Regions from separate parts of the Homo sapiens genome. Here all the other regions are linked to region 1. Evidence: promoter capture Hi-C in human tissues and cell types (Jung and others, 2019). All regions are on one chromosome and are shown on one strand. Each heading gives the region's core, a stretch centred on a gene start or on the middle of the fragment in contact. The rest is flanking DNA. Distances are from core to core; before and after follow the strand shown. Region 1 holds the start of PRDM13 (PR/SET domain 13). Region 2 has its middle 160 kb from the start of MCHR2-AS1. Region 3 overlaps USP45 (ubiquitin specific peptidase 45). Region 4 has its middle 180 kb from the start of MCHR2-AS1.

Region 1 (3,143 bases), core at 1-2,500:
ACCACTCAGGCCTCTCTTGGAAGAACTGCATCGGGCTCCGGTGCTGGCTGCATAGGATTTGGGGAGCTGTGCTCAGAACTAGCAGCACGCGGCAGGTGCCGGCAGAAATCACAAATATCTGATGAACTTGATTACTTGGCTACTATTTATGAAAATAAATGTTCTCACGCCAATTGGAGGCTTCCCTAAAAGAAAACGGGTAGCTCTCCGGTTTAACTCTGAAGTACAACGTCTTGTTAGTTCACAAAGTAGGTGTAAGAAAGAGTTGTCCCAAACGCCCACCTCGCCCCTCTTCTCTACAACCTTTAACAGATTGCGGTGATTTTCGTTTTTGTTTACTGTTTTTTTTTTAATAGAAAAGTCCAGGTTGCTGGTTTTAGGGAAGTTAGTCCAAGGACATCTTCTAGGGGACGTGATCAATAACCCACTGGTAGAACTTCTTCCTCTTCAACCCTGGGCTGCGGACCGGGGCGCAGGATCCCCATTCGAAACTGTTGGTTCTGGGGCTGTTTCCCATTCTCCAGAGAAAGTGCAGGCCCGGGGTGTGCCCGAGAAAAGTGATGAGCAGTTGACCTCCCCTTCTCAACTTGGTCTGGAGGCTTCATCATATTTTCGGACGAAATGGGACAGAAGTGAGAATTAAAGCGGTTCTGAATAGACGACTGGCCTGAACCCAATCCCCTGAAATGGTAATATGGTTGTTATTTAAAAAGTGTAGGTATTTTCTGGTGTTTTCCCATCAAGTACCTGCCTAATTTCTGTATGGCACACGCCAGAAATCAATAGTAGTTAACAAGTCCTCCAAACAGTCTCCATCTCTTTGTTTAATCTCCTTTACAATAAAGCCAAGGGGAGAGAATTAAAAATCTTTGAAGTAGATCAAGGCTCAAAGGAATCAGCCAAGTAGACTTAAAGTAGTCACTTATTTCCCAAAACTGGTTTGTCGGGGAACAATAAAAGGAAGTAAAATTTATGGAGAAATTATACAGTGGATTTGTCACTTAAAATATCGTAACTGTCTGGAGGACAATACCCCATGCTGAGGATTAATGGTCCCGCCGGACCTTTGATTCACCAGTGCCTTTTCTTCGCCCTTGACAAATTGGATTTTTAGGAATGGGAAGGTCGCCTGGACCATTGTGTGCTAGCCATTCAGCGGCCTCGATTATGCAGGGGGCTGAGGGAACCACTCCATGTGACCCTCTCGGGTGGGACTCTGCAGCTGCTTCGCAGCGCAACTCTCTCACCAAACTCCGCGCCCTTGCGCTAGCGGTGCCAAAAGGCTCCCGCCCCGATTGAAAAGGCGCAGTGCATGCCCGCCCGCGTCACTCCGCGGGCGGAGGACGCACGTCGGGGCGCGGCTCTCTGGCTAGCGCGCAGCTCCAGCTCTGTCACTCGCGCCCTTCCAAGGACCTGGAGCACCCGAGCGCCTGCCTGGTGGCGGCGGCAACAATGCACGGAGCCGCCAGAGCGCCAGCCACCAGCGTGAGTGCCGACTGCTGCATCCCGGCCGGCTTGCGCCTCGGACCGGTGCCTGGTACCTTCAAGCTGGGCAAGTACCTGTCAGACCGCAGGGAGCCCGGGCCTAAGAAAAAGGTATTGACCATTCAGACCTCTGCCCACTGCCATTCGCCTCTCAGTGCCCTGACCCGGGAAAGGGGTACGAGAGAAAGTGGAGGAAGGGAGTGATTGAGTCGTTACCTGCTAATTCTGCCGGGTGGAAGGGGACTCCTATTATTCTGAGCAAGTAGCCTCTTTAACTGTGAGAGCTGGACGGGGTCGGGCTGAGAGGAGAGGATGTGGCCGAGAGGCGACAGCCCTGGGTGGGGTGCACTGAGCGCTGTAGGTGCCGGGACCATTCGCAGCTTGTGTTTTCCCCTGCGCTCTCGGGTCTCCTCAGTCAGAAGCCAGAAGCCCACCCCCGCACGCTGTCCGCAGCTCTCTCTGCAAAAGCACCCTCTTTCTGGGGGCTCAGGGCATCGAGACCCTTTCTTCCCTTCTGCCCTTCAATATGTTAATTTGAGGCCTAATTTCGCCTTAAAGTAATTTTTTTTCCTGAAAAAAAAAATCTTTGGGAGGCTCTCAGTTCCTAGAACCTCCTCAGATATTTTTTTTTCCCTTGCCGATGTCGGCTTGTGGGTATGCGGCATATGGAGAGAGGATGAGCAAGGTACTGGCTCTGACGCGGGCTCCAAGGGCGAGGCGCGCCCATTCGCGCGGGGCACAGGGTCAGAGCGTCTGCAGCGGGGCTCTGAGAGTCCAGAGGCCCAACCGGGAGGCGCCAGGGCCAAACCACTAGCTTTGACTCCCACACTCCACACACCGTCGCGACCCCTGACCAGAGAGACTTATAGCACTCGCCCGCTTTGGGGGCGTCCCAGGAGCCAAAGGTCGGCAAACAGCGACCGGGAAATGAAGGCAGAAGTCTGGGGTAGAAGAAAGGACTTTGGCTTCCTTGGCTTTAGCTTGCCTTGCTTGGAGCTTTCTAGTAAAAAGCTCCGGTGTCCAGCCAGCGGGACTTGCACCTCGCTCCTCCTGCAATCACGCCCCCCACTACAGTCTAAAGCGGGGTTTGGTGCCCACCGCGCATTCCTCTTTAAACGCGTTTTAATTGCTTTTAAATGGCCTGCCAGCTGCGGGCAAGCTTTTCCCCGCTTGGGCTTTGTTCCGAGACTTTAGCTGCAGGGCTCACAGGCAACTAGGTGCGATGCACACAGAATACAGGAGGCATGAGATAATTTTTTTGTTTGTTTGTCGGGGGTACGCTCTGGGCCCTGGGACTGACCTAGAAATGTCTCTACCGTGGTGTTACGGCTGCTCTCAGAACTGCAAATGGGAGAGCTGGGGTAGGGGACAACTTGGTACAAGATGTGCCTAAGCACTCAGGGAGGATGCTCTCAACACCCCTCTCCCCTCCCCGTGTCGTCAAGGTGGGGCGCAGGGAAGTGGGAGTACTGTTAGCATAGGTAGACTTTCCTCTTTCTCCCTCCCCGAAGCAAGGTCCTAAGGAATTCTCCTCCTCCCAGTAGCCCATAGTGGTCTGGCCAAACCAAAAACAACCACTTTCCTGTGTTGGGTTGGGGTGGAGGATAAACTTTCTGTTTGGGTTGTGGGCCTGGCCAAGGTGCGGGGGAGAACGACCA
Region 2 (3,137 bases), core at 609-3,108, 230 kb after region 1:
ATGTACTTAAAAGTTGGAAAGCTATACAATTGTAATTTGAAGAAGTGGTCTATGCTTGAAGGGCTGTTGTAAAGAAGTGAACATTCCATGAGAGAGGCAATTTAGGAAGCAATTGATTTTGATATTCTTTAAGGCAAGACAAAACACTAAGTGGGTTATTTTTCTTCTTAGAAAAAGGTATTGAATGATACCATTCATGTGTGAAATTTGAAAATACCTGCTAATAAGCCTTTTGATTTCTTACTCAATAGACATTGGAAAAAATAATTTCTACTTGCTCCTTCTTGGTTCAGTGTTTCATTAATGTAAAATAATTCATGTGACATTGATCCATCAATGCTATTCAATGTAAGATCAAAGGTCAAAGTTCAATTGGAAATTGTGCTAAGCAGTTTAGAACCATTTTGAAGAAGTGAATGAGCCTTATTTTAATGTGTAATTAGTGGATTTATCACAGTCCAGATGCTAATCTAGTTTCAAAAGTAAATAAACTATTCATTCAATACAAATAGTTGTATTTTAGCACTTTTCTACCATGTCCTAGTGAGGACAAAAAAACCTTTAATTTTAATTTCAGTTACTCATGAATATTACCAAAATGTTAACCTCTGAAGGATGCCTGCTGTTGGCATGCTAAGACCTAACATGGAGCTCTGACGATCTCCATGTCTGACAATTTCAGTTTTGATTGAAAAACCTGAAGGCAAGGCCTACAGTAAGGCCATTTCTGTATGTTTAGCTACAATGATAGTTTGTTTATATGGGTATAGGACTAAAATGTTTCCTCAGCAAAACTTGTATAAGAGATGTACGTACAGATCCTTATCAATTCGGAAATCAATCCAATTTAGAAAAATGTTGCCTTTGGTATAAATCTTTATATATACACACACATACACACATATACATATACACATACATACATACATATATGAACATAATTTATATATATTAGTTTAATATATATGCATACGTGCATATATAAAATAATATATGCATATATTTAGCAATATGGCATGTTTTATCTGAAATGCCAGAAGAGTAGTTTTCTGTTTCAATGAGATTTGAAAAAGAAATATGTATATATGAATGGTAAGTGGTCTTTCTTTCCTTCTACAACTTCTTTTCTATTCCTCCATACTCCCCAAAGGGGGTGCTAATCTGACCAGATTTTAGGACTTGGACTGGGTCATATTTACCAGAGGCATGCTGTGTTGAAAGAGAATGTGTCCTTGTTCAGCCTTACCTTCTCTTCCTATTGCCTTCAGACCAAGGACCCCTTGGGCCCTAACTATTCCTGCTCTTTTTCCTCTTTCAAAAACATTTAATTAATTATTTAATTTATTTTTTGAGACAGGGTCTCCCTCTGTCTCCCAGGCTGAGTGCAGTGGCTCAATCATGGCTCATTGTATCCTTGAACTCCCAGACTCAAGTTATCCTCCCACCTCAGCCTTCTTAGCAGCTGGGACTACTGGCATGTGCCACCACATCTGACTAATTTTTTTTTTAGAAGGAGTCTCGCCCTGTTGCCCAGGCTGGAGTGCAGTGGCCCAAACTCGGTTCACTGCAACCTCCACCTTCTGGATTCAAGTGATTCTCCTGTCTCAGCCTCCCGAGTAGCTGGGACTACAGGTGCATGCCACCATGCCTGGCTAATTTTTGTATTTTTAGTAGAGATGGGGTTTCACCGTGTTAGCCAGGATAGTCTCGATCTCCTGACCTTGTGATCTGCCCACCTCGGCCTCCCAAAGTGCTGGGATTACAGGCATGAGCCACCGTGCCCAGCCACCTGACTAATTTTTGTATTTTTTACAGAGATGAGTCCTTGCTTTGTTACCCAGGATGGTCTCGAACTCCTGGATTCAAGCGATCCTCCTGCCTTGACCTTCCAAAGTGCTGGGATTATAGGCATGAGCCACCACGCCTTGCCTGCAAAAACACTTAGGTGCTTGGGAATTCTTGCTGCTTCAGGCTGTGGTTGATGATAATATCGATATTTAATAGGGAGAGGGAAGCCCTGCTTTGGCTCAATGCCTAACCCAGGTACTTCAGCCCAGAATTATTATAGATCCCTGTGCTGGGAGCCCTCCCCACTCAGCTAACTAATAAGAGAGTGACAATTCAATTTTCCATGAACCTGGGATGAGAAGGATTGTGTTGGCCAAGGCAGGATTGATTTCCACCCTTGGAATATAATACCGTTGCGGCCTCACTTGTGCTTTCAGATGAGGAAATTAATATTGTGATTTTGTTAAAATAATATTCTAAGACTTTTTTTGTGAAAATATGTTTCTTTGCTTCTAGATTATCACCATAGCTTAAATTAAATATCTCAGATAGATAGTAAGTAGCATTAAATACTAAACCTTTATGGACTTAAGTACTGGAGCAGATGTATTCTGATTAATCCCTTGATTTTAAACAATTATTATTTTTTTAATCTTGATGTTGCAGATATCTGGGATACTGTGCCACAGGGATGGATTTTCATGGATGCTGTCTGCAGTATAGTTTCCTATGATTTTATTATTTGTATCAGTGGGTATTGTAAAAGGGTGAATAGTAACTTCCAATTCTGGCAATATAATGGAATAGTCAAAAAATTCTTCAACCATGAAATGCTGCAAAATGCTGGATAAACATAAAAAATACAATTTGAATTCATGGCTCAGATAGCAAAAATTTGAGGGGAAACTGAGAGCAAAAGCTTGAATTCAAAGAAGTAAATAGGCTGGGCGTGGTGGCTCATTCCTGTAATCTCAGCACTTCGGGAGGCTGAGGCTGGAGGATCACTTGAGGCTAGGAGTTTGAGATAAGCCTGGGCAACATGGCAAGACACTGTCTCTACAAAACAAATAATAAGTTAGCCTGGCCAACTTGGTGATGTGAGTCTGTGGTCCCAGTTACTCTGGCTAGAAGTTGAAGAGGGAGGACCATTTGAACCTGAGAGGTCAAGGCTGTTCTGAGCCGTGATTGCATCACTGCACTCAAGTCTGGGCGACAGTGAGAACCTGTCTCAAAAAAAAAACAAAACAAAAACCAAAAAAAAACAAAGGAAAGAGAAAGAAAGAAAGAAAAGAAAGGAAAGAAAAAGAAAGAAAGAAAGACAAGAAAGGAATGAAAAGAAAGAAAGAAAA
Region 3 (3,205 bases), core at 655-3,154, 160 kb before region 1:
TGACTCTGTAAGTTGACAGTGTTTTCAAAGAAAAGAGTCTTGTAACCTCATTGAAAATAAATGCCAATAATTCTTAAACATATCATAGTTATTAAATACCATTTCTCTCAGATCCATTTCCTAAGCCTACTGAAACTAAGATCACTAGAAGATATACTAAAAAATAGTTCTATTTTAAAAGTAAATCTTCACACAAGAAACTAACAACAGTGTAACAGAGGCTATTTGTGGGGAAGGAAATAGGACTTTTGTAGAACAGGGCTATGAGGGAGACTTTTTTCTTTAAAAGAAAAATCTCTTTTAGAGACAGCATCTTGCTCTGTTGCCCAGGCTAGAGTGCAGTGGCACAATCACAGCTCACCGCAGCCTCAAACTCTCGGACTCAAGTGATCCTCCCACCTCAGCCTCCCATGTAGTTACTACTACAAGTATGTACCACCATACCTGGCTAATTTTTTAATTTTTTGTAGAGATAAAGTCTCGCCATGTTGCTTAGGCTGGTCTTGAACTCCTGACCTCAAGCAATCCTCCCACCTTGGCTTCCCAAAGGAGACTTTTCAGTTACTGTATAAGCCTTTCCATACTTGTTCATTTTTAAACACTGAAAATGTATCTGTTTTTTAAACAAATTAAAAAGTAACAAAAGTAAACTATAAACTATTATGACACAGTGTTGCTTGGTTGCCATAGATCTGGAAGAAAATTACGGGAAAAAAATAACCTAAGTTTGGGAAGGGGGGAATCAACTAATTAAAAATTTTAAGCTACCTGAAATGTTTCACTAAAGTTTCCACACAGCTGATGGCTTGAAGTACATTTTTCTTTTCCTATACCTTGGCTGAAGGGTCAAGACAAAAAATAAAGAAAAGACTATCATGAGTAATTGATACTCAGTTTTAGTTATTCAGGGGAAGAAGAGTAAGTTATAAAAAGTGTCTTGCCTCAATTTTTTTTATCTGCAAAATCAGGAAAAATAACATTAGCCAACAAGTTCCACTCCGCTGAATTTATATAGTACTTTTTTTTGGAAACAAACTTTCCTATTATACATATAATACTAACAGTTGGTAAACAAAGCGGCCGGCCAGGAAGCTCGAACTGGGTGGAGCCCACCACAGCTCAAGGAGGCCTGCCTGCCTCTGTAGACTCCACCTCTGGGGTCAGGGCACAGCCCAACAAAAGGCAGCAGAAACCCCTGCAGACTTGAATGTCCCTGTCTGACAGCTTTGAAGAGAGTAGTGGTTCTCGCAGCACAGAGTTTGAGATCTGAGAACGGACAGACTGCCTCCTCAAGTGGGTCCCTGACCTCCGAGTAGCCTAACTGGGAGGCACCCCCCAGTAGGGGCACACTGACACCTCACACGGCCGGGTACCCATCTGAGACAAAGCTTCCAGAGGAACGATCAGGTAGCAACATTTGCTATTCAGCAATATTCGCTGTTCTGCAGCCTCCGCTGCTGATATCCAGGCAAACAGGGCCTGGAGTGGACCTCCAGCAAACTCCAACAGACCTGCAGCTGAGGGTCCTGACTGTTAGAAGGAAAACTAACAAACAGGACATCCACACCAAAACCCCATCTGTCAGTCACCATCATCAAAGACCAAAGGTAGATAAAACCACAAAGATGGGGAAAAAACAGAGCAGAAAAGCTGAAAATTCTAAAAATCAGAGCGCCTCTCCCCTTCCAAAGGAACACAGCTCCTCGCCAGCAACGGAACAAAGCTGGACGGAGAATGACTTTGACGAGTTGAGAGAAGAAGGCTTCAGATGATCAAACTTCTCCTAGCTAAATGAGGAAGTTCGAACCCAATGCAAATAAGTTAAAAACCTTGAAAAAAGATTAGACAAAGGGCTGACTAGAATAATCAGTGTAGAGAAGTCCTTAAATGACCTGATTGAGCTGAAAACCATGACAGGAGAACTACGTGACAAATGCACAAGCTTCAGTAGCCGATTTGATCAACTGCAAGAAAGGATATCAGTGATTGAAGATCAAATGAATGAAATGAAGCAAGAAGAGAAGTTTAGAGAAAAAAGAATAAAAAGAAACAAAGCCTCCAAGAAATATGGGAATATGTGAAAAGACCAAATCTATGTCTGATTGCTGTACCTGAAAGTGACAGGGAGAATGGAAAACACTCTGCAGGATATTATCCAGGAGAACTTCCCCAACATAGCAAGGCAGGCCAACATGCAAATTCAGCAAATACAGAAAACGCCACAAAGATACTCCTTGAGAAGAGCAACTCCAAAACACATAATTGTCAGATTCACCAAAGTTGAAATGAAGGAAAAAATGTTAAGGGCAGCCAGAGAGAAAGGTCAGGTTACCCGCAAAGGGAAACCCATCAGACTAACAGCAGATCTCTTGGCAGAAACTCTACAAGCCAGAAGAGATTGGGGGCCAATAGTCAACATTCTTAAAAGAATTTTCACCCCAGAATTTCATATCCAGCCAAACTAAGCTTCATAAGTGAACGAGAAATAAAATCCTTTACAGACAAGCAAATGCTGAGAGATTGTGTCACCACCAGACCTGCCCTACAAGAGCTCCTGAAGGAAGCACTAAACATGGAAAGGAACAACTGGTACTAGCCACAGCAAAAACATGCCAAACTGTAAAGACCATCAATGCTAGGAAGAAACGGCATCAACTAACGAGCAAAATAACCAGCTAACATCATGACAGGATCAGATTCACACATAACAATATTAACCTTAAATGTACATGGGCTAAATGCTCCAATTAAAAGATACAGACTGAAAAACTGCATAAAGAGTCAAGACCCATCAGTGTGCTGTATTCAGGAGACCCATCTCACGTGCAGAGACACACATAGACTCAAAATAAAAGGATGGAGGAAGATCTACCAAGCAAATGGAAAACAAAAAAAGGCAGGGGTTGCAATCTTAGTCTCTGATAAAACAGGCTTTAAAACAACAAAGATCAAAAGAGAAAGAAGGTCATTACATAATGGTAAAGGGATCAATTCAACAAGAAGAGCTAACTATCCTAAATATATATGCACCCAATACAGGAGCACCCAATACAGGAGCACCCACATTCATAAAGCAAGTCCCCAGAGACCTACAAAGAAACTTAGACTCCCACACAATAATAATGGGAGACTTTAACACCCCACTGTCAACATTAGACAGATCAATGAGACAGAAAGTTAACAAGGATAGCCAGGAATTGAACTC
Region 4 (2,763 bases), core at 77-2,576, 200 kb after region 1:
CTAAAGTCCATGTTTCTGCAAACAGCACCACAATCACCAAGGTCAGGCTTACCTTTCTCTTCACTCCCATGTTCAACTGGTCACTCAGTCCTTGTACATCTGCCTTGATTGTTTCCAGGTTGTTTTTCTCTGTTCTCCCCAGGGCTCGCTCATTACCTGGATTGTCCTAATGCCTTCTTACCTGGTCTTTCTATTTCTGGTCTCTTTCTTCAAATAGTTCTGCTTTTTATTTCAAATCAATCTGCTAAAACATCACTTTCATTGTTTCTTGCCTCAATTTAAAAAATGCCACTTCCCCCATTTTTCTGCAAGACCCCTCATCTAGATTTTAAGTTCCTTCACAGGCCATCAAATTTTTCAAATTTACTTCTAACCACTCACTCCTCAATATAAAGGCTCTATCCATTTAGAAGAATAGAACCAAGCTAAAAAGCTGGGGGAAAGTTCAGATGTGATTGAGAGTTTGATGACAGATTTTGTGTGTGTGTGCGTGTGTGTGTGTGTGTGTGTGTGTGTGTGTGTGTGTGTGTGTATTCATTCCCTTTGGGTGTTCCTAAATCTCCTGAAGCTTTTATTGAGAAGCCCATTCTAGGATGTTTTACATTTGAGTCCCTGAACATGACTTGTTCATATTATCTTCTTCCCTCCCCTCTGAGATTATTTCTGTTAATTGTATCACCAACCTCATCATCCAGCTAGAAATCAAGCCATCCTCTTTAACTTGTCTGTATCTCTTACCTGTCACCTCAACCACTTGTTGCATCCTGGTTTATTCTATTGTGCAACATCTCTCACATACGTTGCCTCCTGTCTGTTCATTTGTGCTGTCTTTCACAACCTTCCATTTTTCTACTATAAGCTTTTGCAGCTAGATTTCTAGCTCATCCTGTATCTATAGATAAATTTGTTCCCCACTCTTGCTTTCTGTACCATATGCTGTTTTCAGATTTATTTTCATAAAACTTCTACTCAGACCCCATTGCTTGCTCTTCAGGGAATTCTCACTGCCTGAAGAATAAAATCCAAACTTCTGGGATTAAAGTTCTTCCACAGCCCGAGCCTGTTACCAGTGGCGAATCTGACAGGTCTGCCGCAAACCTGACCCTTGCCTCCTTGGAGGAAATAATTTGGCTGAGGAGCAGAAGTAGGTTTCAGGTAGAGAGAGAGACCTAAGCAAATTTTAGAGCAGGAGTGAGTTTATCAAAAAGTTTTAGAGCAGGAACAAAAGGAAGTAAAGTACACTTGGAAGAGGGTCAAGAAGGTGACTTAAGAGATGCAAGTGTCCTGTCTGGCCCTTGACTTGGGGTTTTGTACATTGGCATGGTTCCAGGGTTTATGTTTCTTCTCCCTTGATTCTTCCCTTGGAGCGAGCTGTCTGCATGTGCAGTGGCCTGCCAGCACTTGGGAGGGGCCACATGCACAGTGTGCTTACTGAAGCTGTACAGCACACTTTAGGTGTTTTTTTCTTACCAGTCTAGTGTTCCTAAAGGAGGGTCATGTACTGGTTAAATGCTGCCATTTTGCCTCTTAGCGTACATGCTTGAGCCCACTCATCCAGCTCCTGAGATCTTATCAGGAAGCTGCTGATCACCAGCTTCAGGTGTTTACTACCTACTGGGAGACTCTGTTTCCCTGGTGCTGGTCATGACCAATTATTATTTTACAGTGGTTGTTTAACAGCCACCTGACCATCACCTGATGGTTGCCTGACATTCCTGGGGGTGGGGCCTCTCCTGCCTTGCTCATGTCTGCCTAATTACCTGCTCTAAGAAGCCTGCCCTAACATTCCTGTCCTATCTCCCATGACATTCCTGGCCTAACTAAGAAATGGGCATAATTTCTTGAACATGTCCTATATGTTTGCTTGCGCTATTTCCTCTGCTTGGATTTCCCTTTTTGCCTTCTGTGCCTGACGTAATGCTACCCGTTTTGGGCCCAGCTCAAATATTACCTCCTCCCTAATACTTTCTATCACCTCTTCCTCTGTTTGAATATTTAACTGTTTGAATATTAACACTCTCTTAACTGTGGCAAGTATAGCATTTTCCATATTCAACAGTTGTAAGGATTTTATATAGATGTTATCTGAGCTAGACTTACAAAGCTACCACAAGGCAGAGACTTACCTTAACCATCTGAACATCCCCAGGTCCTGGCATGATTCCTTGCATGTAATCACTGAATATGTGAACATGCTCCTGCCTTGACAGCCTTCCTCTTGCTGATACATTTTCCTGGAACTCTTGCTTTTAACCTCTCTAGGTCTCTAAATACTTAAAGACTTTAAAGGATCAATTATGATTCTTTGTTTCAGACAATTTCTTCTTAACTAGTAATCTTATCTGTGAATATGTATATTCATTGTTGTCTGTGTTATTCTCTTAGAACTTAACAAATTGCTCCTTTGTATTATTAAAAATGTTTATTTTGGGTATGATGGGCAGGGAGTGAGGAGGGAGGTCACAGTTTGAATTCAAATGCAATTTAGCTATGTTCATGCAAATCCAGTGGGAATTAGGGGTAGATATGATCATACCAGAGCGGCTGACAACTCTGAAATCTTTAGGGCTGACCAGCAGGCTAGAGACTCAGGAAAGAGTGGATGTTGTAGCTCAAGTCCAAAAGCAGTCTGGAAGCAAAATTCCCACTTCCTTGGACAACCCTAACCTTTTTCTCTTAAAGGAGTTATTATCTATTATCATAAGAACTCCTGTTTATCTTGGGTGATAACCTATTCTAAGTAAAAAGTAGTGCTTAGCTTGA

What was found. Contacts are between HindIII fragments. The study calls those that stand out against the background at their distance.
Region 2: a contact is called between a fragment that was not itself captured here and the fragment with the promoter of PRDM13 in region 1, in 1 of the 25 tissues and cell types used here (mesendoderm cells).
Region 3: a contact is called between a fragment that was not itself captured here and the fragment with the promoter of PRDM13 in region 1, in 1 of the 25 tissues and cell types used here (adrenal gland).
Region 4: a fragment that was not itself captured here is called in contact with the fragment with the promoter of PRDM13 in region 1 in 1 of the 25 tissues and cell types used here (mesendoderm cells).

Annotation. Positions count from the first base shown.
Region 1 is chr6:99,605,583-99,608,725 of GRCh38, forward strand. PRDM13 (PR/SET domain 13) reads left to right here and starts at 1,251. Exons shown (of 4, transcript NM_021620.4): 1 at 1,251-1,596. The coding sequence starts at 1,453. The HindIII fragment of the contact is 8,735 bases long and covers 1-3,143 here.
Region 2 is chr6:99,830,118-99,833,254 of GRCh38, forward strand. No RefSeq gene overlaps it. Among named protein-coding and RNA genes, the nearest start is that of MCHR2-AS1, 160 kb to the right of the region's middle. The HindIII fragment of the contact is 3,906 bases long and covers 1-3,137 here.
Region 3 is chr6:99,446,459-99,449,663 of GRCh38, forward strand. USP45 (ubiquitin specific peptidase 45) reads right to left here. Exons shown (of 18, transcript NM_001346022.3): 14 at 1-5. Among named protein-coding and RNA genes, the nearest start is that of PNISR, 23 kb to the left of the region's middle. The HindIII fragment of the contact is 3,023 bases long and covers 394-3,205 here.
Region 4 is chr6:99,809,713-99,812,475 of GRCh38, forward strand. No RefSeq gene overlaps it. Among named protein-coding and RNA genes, the nearest start is that of MCHR2-AS1, 180 kb to the right of the region's middle. The HindIII fragment of the contact is 3,232 bases long and covers 1-2,763 here.